Linked DNA regions of Homo sapiens: regions 1, 2, 3 and 5 are each linked to region 4. The links are contacts of gene promoters, found by promoter capture Hi-C in blood cells and fetal thymus (Javierre and others, 2016). All regions are on one chromosome and are shown on one strand. Each heading gives the region's core, a stretch centred on a gene start or on the middle of the fragment in contact. The rest is flanking DNA. Distances are from core to core; before and after follow the strand shown.

Region 1 (2,700 bases), core at 94-2,593, 4.2 Mb after region 4:
CCTCAAGTCTCATCACTGGATGCTTCTGTCAAATAATTAATATTTATACACACACACACACACACACACATACACACGTGCGTGTGCATCTCTCCTATCTTTGAAGGATGGGGCAGGAAATAGACACTGTGTCTTTAAAAAAAAAAGTCTGAAGGCCAGCTGAATGATATTAAACCAAGGGCCTAATTTGGCTCCTAGGCCTAAAGGGGCCAGAATTTCTAAACGCCACTTGTAGTTAAACGTCAAACAGTATTTTATACACACAGTATAAGTACTGTGACATGTGTCTACCTTTTGCAATATTGGTTCAAACAGAGATCCAACACTTGGACCCTTTTCAGTTTTAACAGTTATTTGTTTACTTTCCCAGTTAAATGTTTTGAATAAGAGAAATGAAAATTTTTCAGACTGTTTAATTCAGAGCAGAAATCTTGACTGCATTCAGTGCTTGGTATATGCTTTTCAGATGAGGGGAGTTTCAAATAATTTTCCTTAGTTTGCTGTAAAAGTAGGTTTAAAATCAAAAGAATTCACCAAAATAACAAACACTGAGAAACCACTAGTTTTCATCATGACCTTAAAACCATGAAGAGTATTAAGTGGCATGGAAAAATGATCACAATATAACATTACATAAAAATGAAGATATGAAACAATGTAATATCCAAATTTTGTTATATATATTTTTTACACTCAGATAAAACCTAAAAGTCAACATCCCTCCCCAGTGTTAACAATGGTATTACAGGCTGAAGGGATTAGAGATGATTTTAATCTTTCTATATACTTTGTAATATTTTTCAAATTTTCTATAATAAGTGCATGTTAAAATTGAAAGACAAGTCTGTAAAGGTTATTTTGGGGGGAAAACTTTAGTTCTTAAATATAAATATATAAATCAAAGTTTTTTTATTAAGTCTTAAATATTTATTTTAGCTAATGATACCATACAATTTATTTCTAAGATTACTTCTCTTTTATGGGTAGGGCTGGTTATAAAAGAAACCAGCCCTATATAATGTAGAGTAGGGAAAAGTTTATCCTTATTTTCCTTACAAAACCCCATTTATGCATCCCTGTCTCTCATTTTTGTAGCACCTTCCGCTTTTTCCCAAGGGTTGTACCCTGCTCTTTCATCTTGCCTCTCAAACCAGACTTTTGTATTCATATCTGTATTCCTGTCTTTCCTTGTCTCTGAGCTCAATTTTCAACATGTTCTTCAAACATGTTCTAGCTATGTGTTACATTATAAAGAATTCAAAGAACCTAAAAAGCTAGTTTATAATAAATAGTGTTCTTAATTAAGATGAAGAGTTCTATAAGTTTTCTTTGCATTTTGGACTGGCACCAACTACAAAGGAATTTCAGGCATCAAGAATAGGCCCATGTGGGAGATATTTTGGGAAACTCCATACCACAGAGACAGTTGCTTGCTATGCATAAAGGCCAACTCTGTTTATAGTCATTGTCTCCTTAGTTGTATTTTATTGTTCAAGGTAAGTAACTAATTTTTGTTAATTATAGATAAGATTTTAATAATTACTACAAAAGGACATTTTCTCATAACCAAGAATGTCATATAATTTTAATTTTTTTGACAGTAAAAATAAAACTTAACTGTCAGAAGTCATGCTCTCTTTTTTGCTTTTTTTTTCCCTCCTTTTTTTTGGTGTTAAGATAGTATCTTCTGTATGAATGCTCCAAGGAACACCCCCTATTAGTTCTAGAAAGATCTATAATTTTTCTAAAAATAACCACTGGTACAATTATATTATGGTATATTTACTTTCCTTCTTGTGCTGCAAGACTTCTAGAAGTTAGCTCTTGATCCTCCCTACCTCAGACATATCACTTACACTAAACTTGACTGTACTTTAAAGGATTTTTAATTGTCTGGGTTATTGATATATGTTAAACCAATTATAGTGCTCTTTTTGGCCTCATTAACATATCAGGTTTATTGTATTCTTAATCCTGCAGGGTCAGAAAGAACCATCAAACCATGAATTTTATAAATAAATCAATCAGTATATCTATACATGTTTATATCTATTCCTACATATATAGTTTTCCTGTGTAACTGCATGAATTAGATCCTGTAATACAGGTCATTCACTTGTCATATCATGTGCTGTAAAAAAGCATTGCTAAATGTATTATAAACTGTTGTTTCAAGTAGATAATTTTATTCTAGAAAACTGTTACAAAACTGTGCTAGTTATTTTGGGCCGTCACTGGGATTCCTGATTCTGTTAAAGTTTAGCTAGTAGCTCAGTTTTTCTGATAAATTTGTGACTAGAATGTCCTGTATTCTGATTTGTCTTTAAACATATCCATATTTTATGGATAATGTTTGAATCAGGACATTCTGTTTTTTCACCTTTGTTTCCTACTTCCCTTTCCTCCGCATGTTTAACTTCAGTTTCATATTTAATCATTTTCAAAGGAAATAAATTGCTTTAAAAGGCTTTCCTGATTTCTGCTATTATGCAGTTAGTCCTATTTTCATTTTACTATGGGCTCTTGCTTTGACAGAAAATGCTGTTAAATATACAAAGTGGGTCATTTCCATCATATTTATTTTATTATAAAGACCATATGGTTTAAGATGAAAACTGCTTTACACACTAACTCCAGTAAATCCAAATAATTTAATAATTTATACATGAAACCAAAATACATTAAAATGTTACCTTATTA
Region 2 (2,700 bases), core at 177-2,676, 3.0 Mb before region 4:
TGATTTGAAATAATACTAAAGGAAGACAAGAACATTTGTTGTACACAACTGTTCACTTAAACTCTAGAACAAGCATATGTATGAAGAGATGATGTTTCCATTTTAACAGGTGAAGAAAAATGATCAGTTTAGAAAAATTTGAAAATACAGAATCACCTACAATCTCCTTAGAGATAATTACTTAGAACATTTTTGGTCTAAGAACATTTCTAGTCTTTTTCCAGTGCATATAAAGCTTTTCAAATTAGCTGTGTGCAGTTCTAGCAGTTCAGCTTCAATCTGTTTGTAACTTTATTTCTAATGTATTTTACAATTAATTGAAATTTCTTTAGTTTACACTTTGAAATACTGATAACATTTTAATAGTGCTGACATAAAGTTTTCTAAAATATATATAGCTGACTTTTTTTTAGTAATGATCTGGTACAATGGAGTATTATTTCTTTAAGAATTATAATTTTATGTTAATTATTTATTGTGAGTGTTTTGGAAGCTGGTATAAATATTTTGCTACTTTTTATTAAGCTTCCTAATAATTTTTGTTTTTATTTTAAAGGCCAAACTGTTTTCAGATAGTAGTTCAGCACTTTAGTGAAGAACATTACATCTTTTACTTTGCAGGAGAAACTCCAGAACAAGCAGAGGTAAGATTACTGTTTCTCAAACTACAGTATACTTTTATGTTAGCCCATGTTTTCTTATTAACTGGAATAGAAAATGATCGCATTCAAGATAAAGTGACAGAACGCCTGAAATCTAATCATCTCTTATTTTAAGGAATGAGATTTCATATGTAAAAAGTTTTCTGAAAGAAATGCAAAAACAAACACAGTGAAGGGTTATTAGGAATGAAAACTCCATTTTAAATTGACCTTTAAATACTCTATGATGTTGAGGCCAACTGAGAATGCTCATTTAAAATCCTCTCTGCATAAAGGTTATAGGTCATCTCAGTATAATCCAAAGGTAAGCCAGTTAACCAGTTAGTTTTGCTAACAAGCATTATTCTTCACTGGTTGAACTCCATGTCTGAAAATAAAAGTCAGTCAACACAAGGAAAGATATTTTAGGAATCTATTCTCTAAGCCAAGTCGAGATATAATGTCTACTTTAGATTAGCTATTAATCCATGTGCAGTGTCCTTCTTATAGCGTCTATTAAGTAATTGTGTGAAGAAATAATATTTTTTAAAAAACACTCTTTAAAAAATATTTTGCAACAAAGGGAGAACCCACCTCTATAACAAAAGTAAAAAATTAGCTAGGTGTTCTGGCTTATGCCTGTAGTCCCAGCCACTGGGTAGAATGAGGCAGGAAGATTGCATTAGCACAGGAGTTTGAGTTACAGTGAGTAAGATCGAGACACTGTAAGCCAGCCTAGGCAACAAACTGAGACACTGTCTCTTAAAAAATTTTTTTGCTTTCTTTGAACCCTAATATTTCTGGAGTATATGGTTGTATTTTATACAAATACAGCTAAATTTCTGCTTATATTCTAACGAAGGAACTTAAAGGTGGTTAAGAAGTGAAAGTGGCTTTGTTGGAAATATAATTTGCCAACCCTAGATATGAGGAAGATGCTCTTAAAACTAGATCCTAGCGTGAGACTCACAGAATAAACCTGAATGAGCTTACAACTGAACGTCATATTTCACATCTTTATCAAATATCTCATTTAATGCTCATTTCACATGTAATGCACATAAAATTTTACGGCTATGTATCCCTAATTTTTAGATGAGAAAGGTAGTGCTCAAAACATTTTGGTAACTTACATGATTTTTTTAAATGTTAGAAATTGAGTTAGAAATTTAAACTTCAGTATCCTATTTTCTAAGTATTTTACCATGGTCCCTCTTTCTGAATAAAATGTCACATACCATAATGACATTTCAGCATGTTTTGCAAGCCTAACATAGAACATTTTTTAATGTATTTATACATAATATTTCTGTATTTCCATAAATGGTATTTCCAGTTTTTGTTGATTTATTGGGCTGTGGGGGTCTCTGGTTATTCTCTTCTATTTCAAAAAGCTATGGTAACTGATTTGGTTTTAATTTGCTGTAATATAAAGACAGTCTCTAGATATTAATAAAGTTCAGCTTCATTGAAATAGCCAACAAACTAAAGACATAATTGAATAAAGCAATAGTACACAGCTTTCCAGAAATATGTAAAAACCAAAGTGAATATTTAGATTTGTTTTTAATAAACCTTAGTTCTCTCCTTTTCCCCAAAGCACTAGATAAACATTTTAAAAATATGGCTGCAATTTGATTTGAATATTAGGCTAAAATGATTTTTAAAATCTAATGTTATATTTGAGAAGCTTAAAAATAACCCAAATCCCCTTATACATTTCTACCTGTATCATGGTCTAAAGTATAGATTAATATGCTTGTCATGGGATCGGTCATCACATTATCAGTTGGTTTTACAATCAGCACTCTCCCCCTCTCACAAAGTGTATCAAGTTAAATTCCACCTAAGCTTGCCTCAAGTATAACAGCTTAATTATACAGTTAATTTCCCCAAGGTAGTATCTGTTTGGGAGAAATAGTTTCTTTAATGTAAATTTGATTTTTTGGCTAATTAATGGCCACTCGATGTGTTTCATACATAAATTCAAACAAAGATTTATACAGAATTACAATTGTTTTGGTTGTTTTATTATTGTTATTGTTATGTTATTGTTATT
Region 3 (2,700 bases), core at 152-2,651, 3.7 Mb after region 4:
GGGTAACAAAGCTGAGTTAGATACCCTCTCCTCTGAGGCAGCTAAAGAGAAGGAAAGTCTGGTGGCTGACAAGTAAACCAACAGTTATGTTCTTCAGAGAGGAGATCTCAGACTCTCTAAGGTATACTTCACTTCCACACTGTTTGTACTTTGCAAATGTACCCTGCCCCCTAAAATGTAAACTCACTGATGGTAGTGACATAATCTTGTCTTTTTAATGTATCCTCAACCATACAACAGTGCCTGTCCACAAAGTAGACAATAAATACTTATTGAATGACTGAATGATCACAGTGGTAAATAATAGATTGGGGAAATCTAGAAAAGTGTATAGGACAAGAAGAAAGTGGTGTAAGTAAGTGGCGGGAGATAAGGAGCAGTAAAAGGTGAGAGAATCCACTGGAGTTAGCCAGAACTGAGTACCTGAATGAATCTCGGGCATTGCAAGACTGTTAGGGCTTCATTTCCGGAAAGAACTCAAATGGTTTGTAGAGTGACACTTTATACTGAAGAGGAAGGCAACAGCCAGATTCTGAAAAGCTTTCTATGTCATGCTGAGTAATTTGATTTTCTGCTGCAGACAATTGGGGAAGCTGAAGGATTGTTGAACAGAGGAGGGAAACATTTTTATTTTGGTGGACTTTTGCAACAGTGACAGATTATATTAAAAAGATAAGGCTCCCAAAAATGTATAATCCCAGTTTAACCATGAGAAAAACATCAGACAAAATACCTGACCAGTACTACTCCAAACAGTTAAAGTCATGAAAAACAAGGAAAGTCTGAGAAACTGTCTGAGCCAAGAGGAGCCTAAAGAGACCAACTTTAATGTTGGATCCTGAAATAGAAATAGAACGTAAGTGAGAAAACTAGTGAAAATTGAATAAAAAAGTAACATTCCATTAAGAGAATATACCAATGTTTACATAAAATATGGAGATTGGTCAAAAGATGAGTGACATGACCTTTCAATATTTCCAGGATAGAGGCCCACTCAAGGGTTAGGGGAATGTACTTTGTTCAGTAGTAAACTATTGAACAAACATATGGGTGCTTCAGCCTGCAATTCCAGCTGGACTTACATGGGAATGAATGAGCCTTCAGATTGTTCCTGTCATTGAGTCAGCTGGGGTCCAAAATTTCATAAAGCAGAGACGAGCCATCCCCACTGTGCCCAGTTCTGAATTCCTGACCCACAGAAACAATTAGAGATAATGAAAATGATTCTTGTTACTTTAAGCCAGTAAATTTTGGAGTGATTTGTTTTTCAGCAAAAGAAACTAATAGCTGTATGACAACAGCCAAAGAGTAAATATCCTTTCAAGTCCAATCCTGCCTAAGATGTCAAAATCAAGAATGAAGAGGTTATGTGCTGAAACAGAGTGAGTCCTTTTCTCTCCTTACTCTACCCTAAATGGTAAACTCCTGCCTCAGCTGACCACAAAAATATCTTCTGCAAATCTGTGAGGAGAAAGGAGGGAAAGCAACAAAAATTGTATGTGGGCTTAGATGTTTTGTTAGAATTACAACAGCCCATGTGTAGCTTAGCAGAAACCATTACAATGATGACTACACAATATAGTACAAAAATGTCCCCTCATTTTAACCATAGTCATCTAAACTGTACAAGTTAGTTTATAATTTTAATTTATACATCTCTAGGGAAGCCAGAAACTTCAGTTTCTCTCCCCACCTCTCTTCTCTTGCACTTCAAAATCCTACTAAGATAAGGAAAAAGGAAAGGAGATTTGTTCCCTCCTGGCTAACAGCTGGTCCATCTTTGATCACTAGGATGATCAAAGAAATGTCCCTATACCATATTTTGCGTATCCTCCTCCTATTCCAGACCACTTCCTTGGGCATCTATCTTTTTATCAATCTACTCCCACCCTTCACATTAAATGATTTCAGTGACATACAGCAGACAGACACCTCCAAAAATACTAACAAGGCTACATGTTGTTCATTTAAGTTAAAAATAAAATTTAAACCTACTTATCATGACTAGGACTCAGTGCCAACATTTTGGCAGCTCAAGAAAATCCATTAAGGAAAATATTCTTAATTAGATGCTAAGGGCAAAGCTCTGTCCAAACTAACCAACTGTATTAGAATGAGGTCTGGATTCTGACTTAAATTTGGAGAATCAAGTAACATTCCTGCCCTTGCTCAAGCCCAAGCAGGAATGTGCTGTGGTTTGAATGTGTTCTCTAAAAATTCATGCATTGGAAACATAATTGCCATTGTAATAATATTAAGAAGTGAAGCTTTAAAGAGGTGATTTAGGTGATAGGGACTGTGCCCTCATAAAAGGATGAATGCCATTATTGTGGGAGTGGGTTAGTTATCATGGGAGTGAGCTCCTGATAAAAGGATAAATTTGGTCCCCATTTTCTCTCTGTCTTGTGCACTCTCACTACTCTGTCTCACCCTCTCTCCCCCTGTGATGCTTTCTGCCACAAGATGACCTTCACAAGATGCAGCCTCTGGATCTTGGACTTCCCCAGCCTCCAGAACTGTAAGCCAAATGAATCTCTTTGTTTATAAATTACCCAGTGTGTGGTATTCTTACAGCAGCAGAAAATGGACTAAGACAGTATGTGTGAAGTGTGGATAGTAATTACAACAAGTTCTGCCTTCTAGATTCAGTTTATATTTAAAGCCCAAAAAGTAGGATCATATAACCAAATAATTTCTAAT
Region 4 (2,700 bases), core at 77-2,576:
AACAAACCATCGAAAATATTAATGAGTCTAAACATATGACAAATATTAGATGCCAATATACAATGTTTGTGCTTCATTCTATATAAAAATGTGATGAGTCTTGTCTCATTTAACATGTAAACCGGAGGTTAACTTCTCATAAACTCTGGAAACGCTTAAAGAAAAAAAGCAAAAATTATTTTAAAGCCAGAAATGTTTTCCTTAAGAGCTGCCCATCTAAATGTGCTCCAAATTTTCAAATGGAGCCGCAACACTGGAATAACGAGTTTTGAAACACAATCCGGTAACACATTAACATGTCAAACCAGTTGACTGTACTTAAAACACCTATCTAGTTGCATTTGAAAGTCGTTTTGGTCTCTGAAAGCTCCAAAAAAAAAAAAAAAAAGCTAGGAAGTGACTAGTAGGTGCAGTATAACAAAGCTGAGGAAGATCTTCCTTTCATGAGACCTGACTTGACACAAACTTGGGTATTCCTGGGGTCAGTCTTTTCCTTCCTGAGACTTTTGGAGGCCAAGTCCAGAACCGACCCACCCCTGACCCCATCCAAGGGTACCATGATTATCCCTTAGCAGAACATGGAATATTTTCGGAGTGTCGTAAGTGTATGGATAGTTTTACGGTACAACGTCTACATAGTGGGAGAGGGCAACAGAGGGTTAGAGGTTAGAACTGAAAGGTAAAAAAATGCAAGAAATTTAGGAAATCCAAGAGACAGACTGCCAATTAAAGTCACTAAAATGGGTCTCCAATTACACCGTAAAGCAGGGCCCTGGGAGAAGAGGAAAGAGTTTTTGTTATTTCCAAAATTTATAGGTGGGTGATTGCATTAGCAGCGGAGCAGCCGAGGTGGGGCCCTGACCAGGCACACGGATGAATGAAGGGATGTCCGCGACCTGATCTGAGAAACAAGAGTAGAAGCCTCGCGATATTTCATTCCCACCTCGCTCGCAACTAAGCCCAACCTTCTGGCAGTCCAAAGCCCTACGCGCTGACAGAAATAACCTCCTTAGCAGAAATGCACTGGTCTCGTTCCCTGCAGGGCATCAGAGCCCAGAGGGTGAGTGATCCGGGCAGGCTGCCCTAGGCTCCTTTCCCGCGTCCCAAACTACATCCCCTGCCTCGCCTCGGCCCCAAACGTCCTCCCTTCCACACACACCCTCCCTGGGCCCCGCTCCGGGGTGTGGAGAGCACTGCCGCCTCCTTATTACCGACCTCAGAGCTAAACTCATTATCTCTTCGCACAGAGACGTTCCTCTCAAGAACGATTTTAACCCCCTACCCAAGGCAGCAAGACGCCCACAGCCGTTCAACAGACACGAACGACCTCAGCGGCCTCAGGGACCTCCCACAACATAGACACTTTTGAGCTGGATTGGTTGAAATGTCGCTATGGTTCTGCCTATTAGGGGGCGGAAGCTTTACCAGTTCTATTTTCATTGGGTAGGTTTTACGTCAATCAAGGAAAAAAAAATTTTTTTTCTGTGCCCCGCCCACCTCCTAACGCCCCCCCGCCCCCCCAATCTAGGGCCGCTCTCGCCCTTCGGATTGGCTCGATGCGTTTTTCCCCGAATCCTTTGCGGGTCCGGCCTCCGATCCCTGTGTGGCTGTTTGGCGGGTGGGCGCTGTGTTCCTCTCTCGTAAAGCCGTGCGGTCTGTGGGCCGCCATTCAGAAACTGGATGGACAGCTTCGGCGGTGGGAAGGGAAGGGACATGCTGCAGGCCACCCTCCGGCTAGAAGGAGGGAGTACTTGAGGAACAAGGTCTGCGAAAATTGGCTGTGCTCTGTTCTAAAACTTGGAATGGCCTCAGTACCTGGGGAATGTGTTTAAAATGCAGACTTAAATGTCCGTTTCTCCATTCTAATTTCAGTAGGTATGAATCTGCGTTTTTACTCCTCACAAGCCTTCCAAGTGATTCTGAGGCAGGTGCTGTGGCTGTACTTGGATTATCACAGGGTTAGATTATCAGGCTATTTATGATTTAGCTGTATCTAAACCACCTTTCCCTCTCTTTCCTCCTTTGAACTGTTTGAAACGGATTTGTTCCCTTCTGTCTCTTATTTTTCAGTGCTGTAAGCTGTTAACACACATGAGACTGTCTTCACTACCAAACCAAGTCTCCTAAAGCTCACTTGAATGTCTGCTTATTCGTGTCTCTTACTAGGTTCAATTTCTTGGAGGCCGTGATTATATCTATTTAACGCTTTTCCTTGTACCTAATAAAATGTCTGGTGCGTAGGTGCTCGGTAAATTGAGTGGAATCTTTTGAAAATCCACAAAATACTGAGCTAAACAGCAAATCTCATAAACGTGAATAAAATAGCCTGAGGATGGGAGTTGAAGGCGGAGAATATATAAACATTATATGTTTAAGGGATGTATATAAAATTTTAGAGAAGGGAGAGAACACAAGATATGCTTCTTAAAGGAGGTGACATAAACGTTAGACCTAGAAGGATGGGCTAAATTTGCACAAGGAAAGATAGTATGATAGAATAAGCTAAAAATTAGCTAAGGGATAGCACCCCTAAAAAACAAAAGTGGAACTTTTATTTTGTTCGTATTTTAAATTTTAAAGTACCTTTATAAATCACCTTTGAGTCTAAAAGGAAAGAGAAATTGTAGTTACTAGAACATAATGATATTGAAAAAAACTATATGTTAAAATTTTAAGATACAGACCAAGTTATAGGAGAAC
Region 5 (2,700 bases), core at 134-2,633, 3.0 Mb before region 4:
TGTATCATTGAGCACACTGGATATATGATTGTCTAAAACCTTTAGATTGTAAGGTTCACAAAAGTTGAGACTGTTCCTGTCCTATTTCTGGTTACATCCTCAAGCACAAAGTTTGGCACATAGAAGGTACCCAAATTGAGCCACTGATCTAACATGAATGAACCAATTCCTGATTTGATTCGACTCAGACTATCCAACTTCTCTTTTAGAGCCAAACAAAACAACTTAAAAAAGTTGCTTTTGTCAATGTTTGTTTACGTATATTATTGATGCCTACATAGTGACTTAAGTTCACAAACCTCTAAAAATATAAGTCACTTAGCAATCTTCTAGTTTAAGAATTTTTTATGGTTTAAATCAGGCCCAGATCCATGACAATATAATTCAAAGTTAGAAGAGTTATCTTAAGCCTTTATAGTAAGCACCGTTCTAAACTCTCAATGGTCTTCATTACATCCCTGGATGTAATGAAGATCACTTAAATGAGATTGCAGATCACTTAAATCAGAAACTCTGTAAGTCCCACCCAACAATCTCAGTTAACAATTTCTCCAGATGACTGATGATGCCCACTGAAGTTTGAAAACAACTGCCCTAGATGACCAGGCCAGACCCACAGGTTGTATCCATGCTATAACAACGAGGATGATTATGAGTTTTAAAATTTTGGATTCTTTTGTTAAAGAATAGGAAAGGAGAATGTAGTATTAGTTTATTTTACATCAAGTTTACCTTTAAGTCGATGAGGAAGCCCTCAAATGGTCTGTAAGGATTGTGGACAATAAGGTGGAAATTAAGTTGCTGTATAAGAAGTAGTTCATATTCCAGTATCTGTTCAAGTGCCTTCTCCTGTCCAAGAGGACTCTCCCGGAGGTTTCCAACAAACTGAGGACTAGATACATTGAATTCATCTACTTTGCAGGCCAAAAATGCACAAGTGAGCCTAGAGGAAAAAATAAGGAGGCAGGAGGCAGGGGGTGGGTGGGGTGGAAGAACATGCATATACTTTGAGAAGTATCTAAATAATTTATTTCTAAAAGTATATTCTATAATTGCCTAATATTCAAAAGCGACTGCTAGACATTGCAAGAATTGTTTTTTAAAAGACACTTCCTGTTCACACTTCATTAGGAGACGTAAGACAACTATAAAATTAGGTCAAACCAATATTGCCATGGCATTCAAACATCACTGACTCAATGACAGTGTTATGCAGTACAACCTAAATATCTGGAAAAACAAATTAACTGAGGAATAAGAGTACTTTGTATAATGTAGATGGAAGAGTTAAAAATAAAGCAGTACCCACATATGTACCATGTAAGTATGGGAAGAAAAGTAGGTTAAAGGAACATTGTGGAAGGCCATCGGCAGAAGTCTCTAAGGGCATCTGAATAAGGGACTATTATTTAAGGGACAAACTTGTGAAATTCACCTGGCCACTTCATGCTGTTCAGTATGAGAAAACAGTAAGAAAGCTACTGTAAAAAACAGTTGGCAGTGAGATCAAGGGCCTAATCTTGACTGGTGGAAATGGGAATCAAAAAAGAGAAAACAGGTACAATGTCATTGAGAGCAAACTCTTTGATGAGTTTCATACTAATTTCATTTTTAATGATAGACACAGCGCTCAGCAGAGAGCAGCAACAACAGACCTTTGTTCAACTGAAATGAGTATGAAGCTATAGGATCCGTAAACTGACTGGATGTGGGAGGGGCCACTATAAATGATTCTCAGTCTGAACAACTGGAAGAACAAAGGTGTCTAATAGGAAGAGATGTTAGAGAAGTAGCTAATTTGAGAAAAACAAAATTTGAATCTGGACAAGCTGAAGTTCACATACCATCAGAATTACTGAAGTACAGGTAAACAGAGATCTCAAGTTCTGAATAAAAAAAAAAAAATAGAATTCAAGTCTAAATTACCCTGTATTAGGAAGTCAGTTCTCTCTCTCTCTCTCTCACAATTCTCTCCTCCCAAAAAATACTCAAAAGATTATAAAGGTCTTCTTAAATGAAAACAATATATTAGACAGACATACTCACATTATTATCCTGGGGTGATATTCCATTACTGAGTTATTAAGATAAAAACGTTTGAAATACATACAAGCCGTACCCTAAGGGTTAAAAAAAATATATCATCAGGATCTAGTCACAAATGTTAAATGTTAAATTTTGTGAAACAGAACTTATTTATGGAAAGGTTTCTTTGTAGAGATTACCCAGAAAAATACTAATACTCATTAATTCTTCTTTAATCAAAACAAATTGTGATGAATTACTACAGAAATGCCATAGCCAAAAGATTCTTTCCCATCCTTTGCTTGTCTATCCCCAGCCTACTCTGGCTAATCCTTCCTATGGTCACTGGATTTAAAAATACGTGTGTGTGTGTGTGTGTGTGTGTGTGTGTGTGTATTAGAAATCAGACTATCAAAAATGTTCTGAATTAGATAAATTCAGGAAGAAAAATACAAACGTTCACAGATTAACCAATCTTATAAAAATACTGACAAAAAAACATGGGCAAGGCAATAAGCCTTCTCTCTAAAGCCACTCCATATTTGTGATATAACCATGTATCCATTCCATGATTTGTGATCACTGCTGCCAACTGAATGGCAGAAGCAGCACTACCATTTATTGAATGTATACCATGTGCCAGACTCTGTGCTAAACACGAAACTATCATCATGT

The links. Contacts are between HindIII fragments. The CHiCAGO score rates a contact against its expected background, and 5 or more counts as called.
Region 1: a contact is called between a fragment that was not itself captured here and the fragment with the promoter of CETN3 in region 4, in 1 of 17 cell types (total CD4 T cells). The highest score is 6.1, in total CD4 T cells.
Region 2: a fragment that was not itself captured here is called in contact with the fragment with the promoter of CETN3 in region 4 in 2 of 17 cell types (total B cells and total CD4 T cells); the score reaches 7.3 in total B cells.
Region 3: a fragment that was not itself captured here is called in contact with the fragment with the promoter of CETN3 in region 4 in 1 of 17 cell types (non-activated CD4 T cells); the score reaches 8.9 in non-activated CD4 T cells.
Region 5: a contact is called between a fragment that was not itself captured here and the fragment with the promoter of CETN3 in region 4, in 7 of 17 cell types (non-activated CD4 T cells, naive B cells, naive CD8 T cells and 4 more). The highest score is 10.8, in non-activated CD4 T cells.

The regions. Positions count from the first base shown.
Region 1 is chr5:94,621,837-94,624,536 of GRCh38, forward strand. The region is part of intron 1 of SLF1 (SMC5/6 complex localization factor 1); the gene reads left to right. Among named protein-coding and RNA genes, the nearest start is that of SLF1, 4.5 kb to the left of the region's middle. The HindIII fragment of the contact is 2,946 bases long and covers 1-2,700 here.
Region 2 is chr5:87,369,257-87,371,956 of GRCh38, forward strand. RASA1 (RAS p21 protein activator 1) reads left to right here. Exons shown (of 25, transcript NM_002890.3): 12 at 557-644. It also overlaps a transcript of CCNH not described here. Among named protein-coding and RNA genes, the nearest start is that of CCNH, 42 kb to the right of the region's middle. The HindIII fragment of the contact is 1,806 bases long and covers 524-2,329 here.
Region 3 is chr5:94,112,284-94,114,983 of GRCh38, forward strand. LOC105379087 (a long non-coding RNA gene) reads left to right here. Exons shown (of 7, transcript XR_001742441.2): 2 at 42-121; 3 at 1,272-1,382; 4 at 2,464-2,518. Among named protein-coding and RNA genes, the nearest start is that of ARB2A, 2.0 kb to the left of the region's middle. The HindIII fragment of the contact is 1,727 bases long and covers 539-2,265 here.
Region 4 is chr5:90,408,430-90,411,129 of GRCh38, forward strand. It overlaps CETN3 (centrin 3), which reads right to left and starts at 1,327. Exons shown (of 5, transcript NM_004365.4): 1 at 1,216-1,327. The coding sequence starts at 1,232. LOC731157 (a long non-coding RNA gene) reads left to right here and starts at 1,571. Exons shown (of 2, transcript NR_105024.1): 1 at 1,571-1,875; 2 at 2,071-2,240. RefSeq lists an enhancer at 1,097-1,296. The HindIII fragment of the contact is 6,726 bases long and covers 1-1,417 here.
Region 5 is chr5:87,407,244-87,409,943 of GRCh38, forward strand. It overlaps CCNH (cyclin H), which reads right to left. Exons shown (of 9, transcript NM_001239.4): 3 at 2,047-2,120; 4 at 733-943. Among named protein-coding and RNA genes, the nearest start is that of CCNH, 4.3 kb to the right of the region's middle. The HindIII fragment of the contact is 6,127 bases long and covers 1-2,700 here.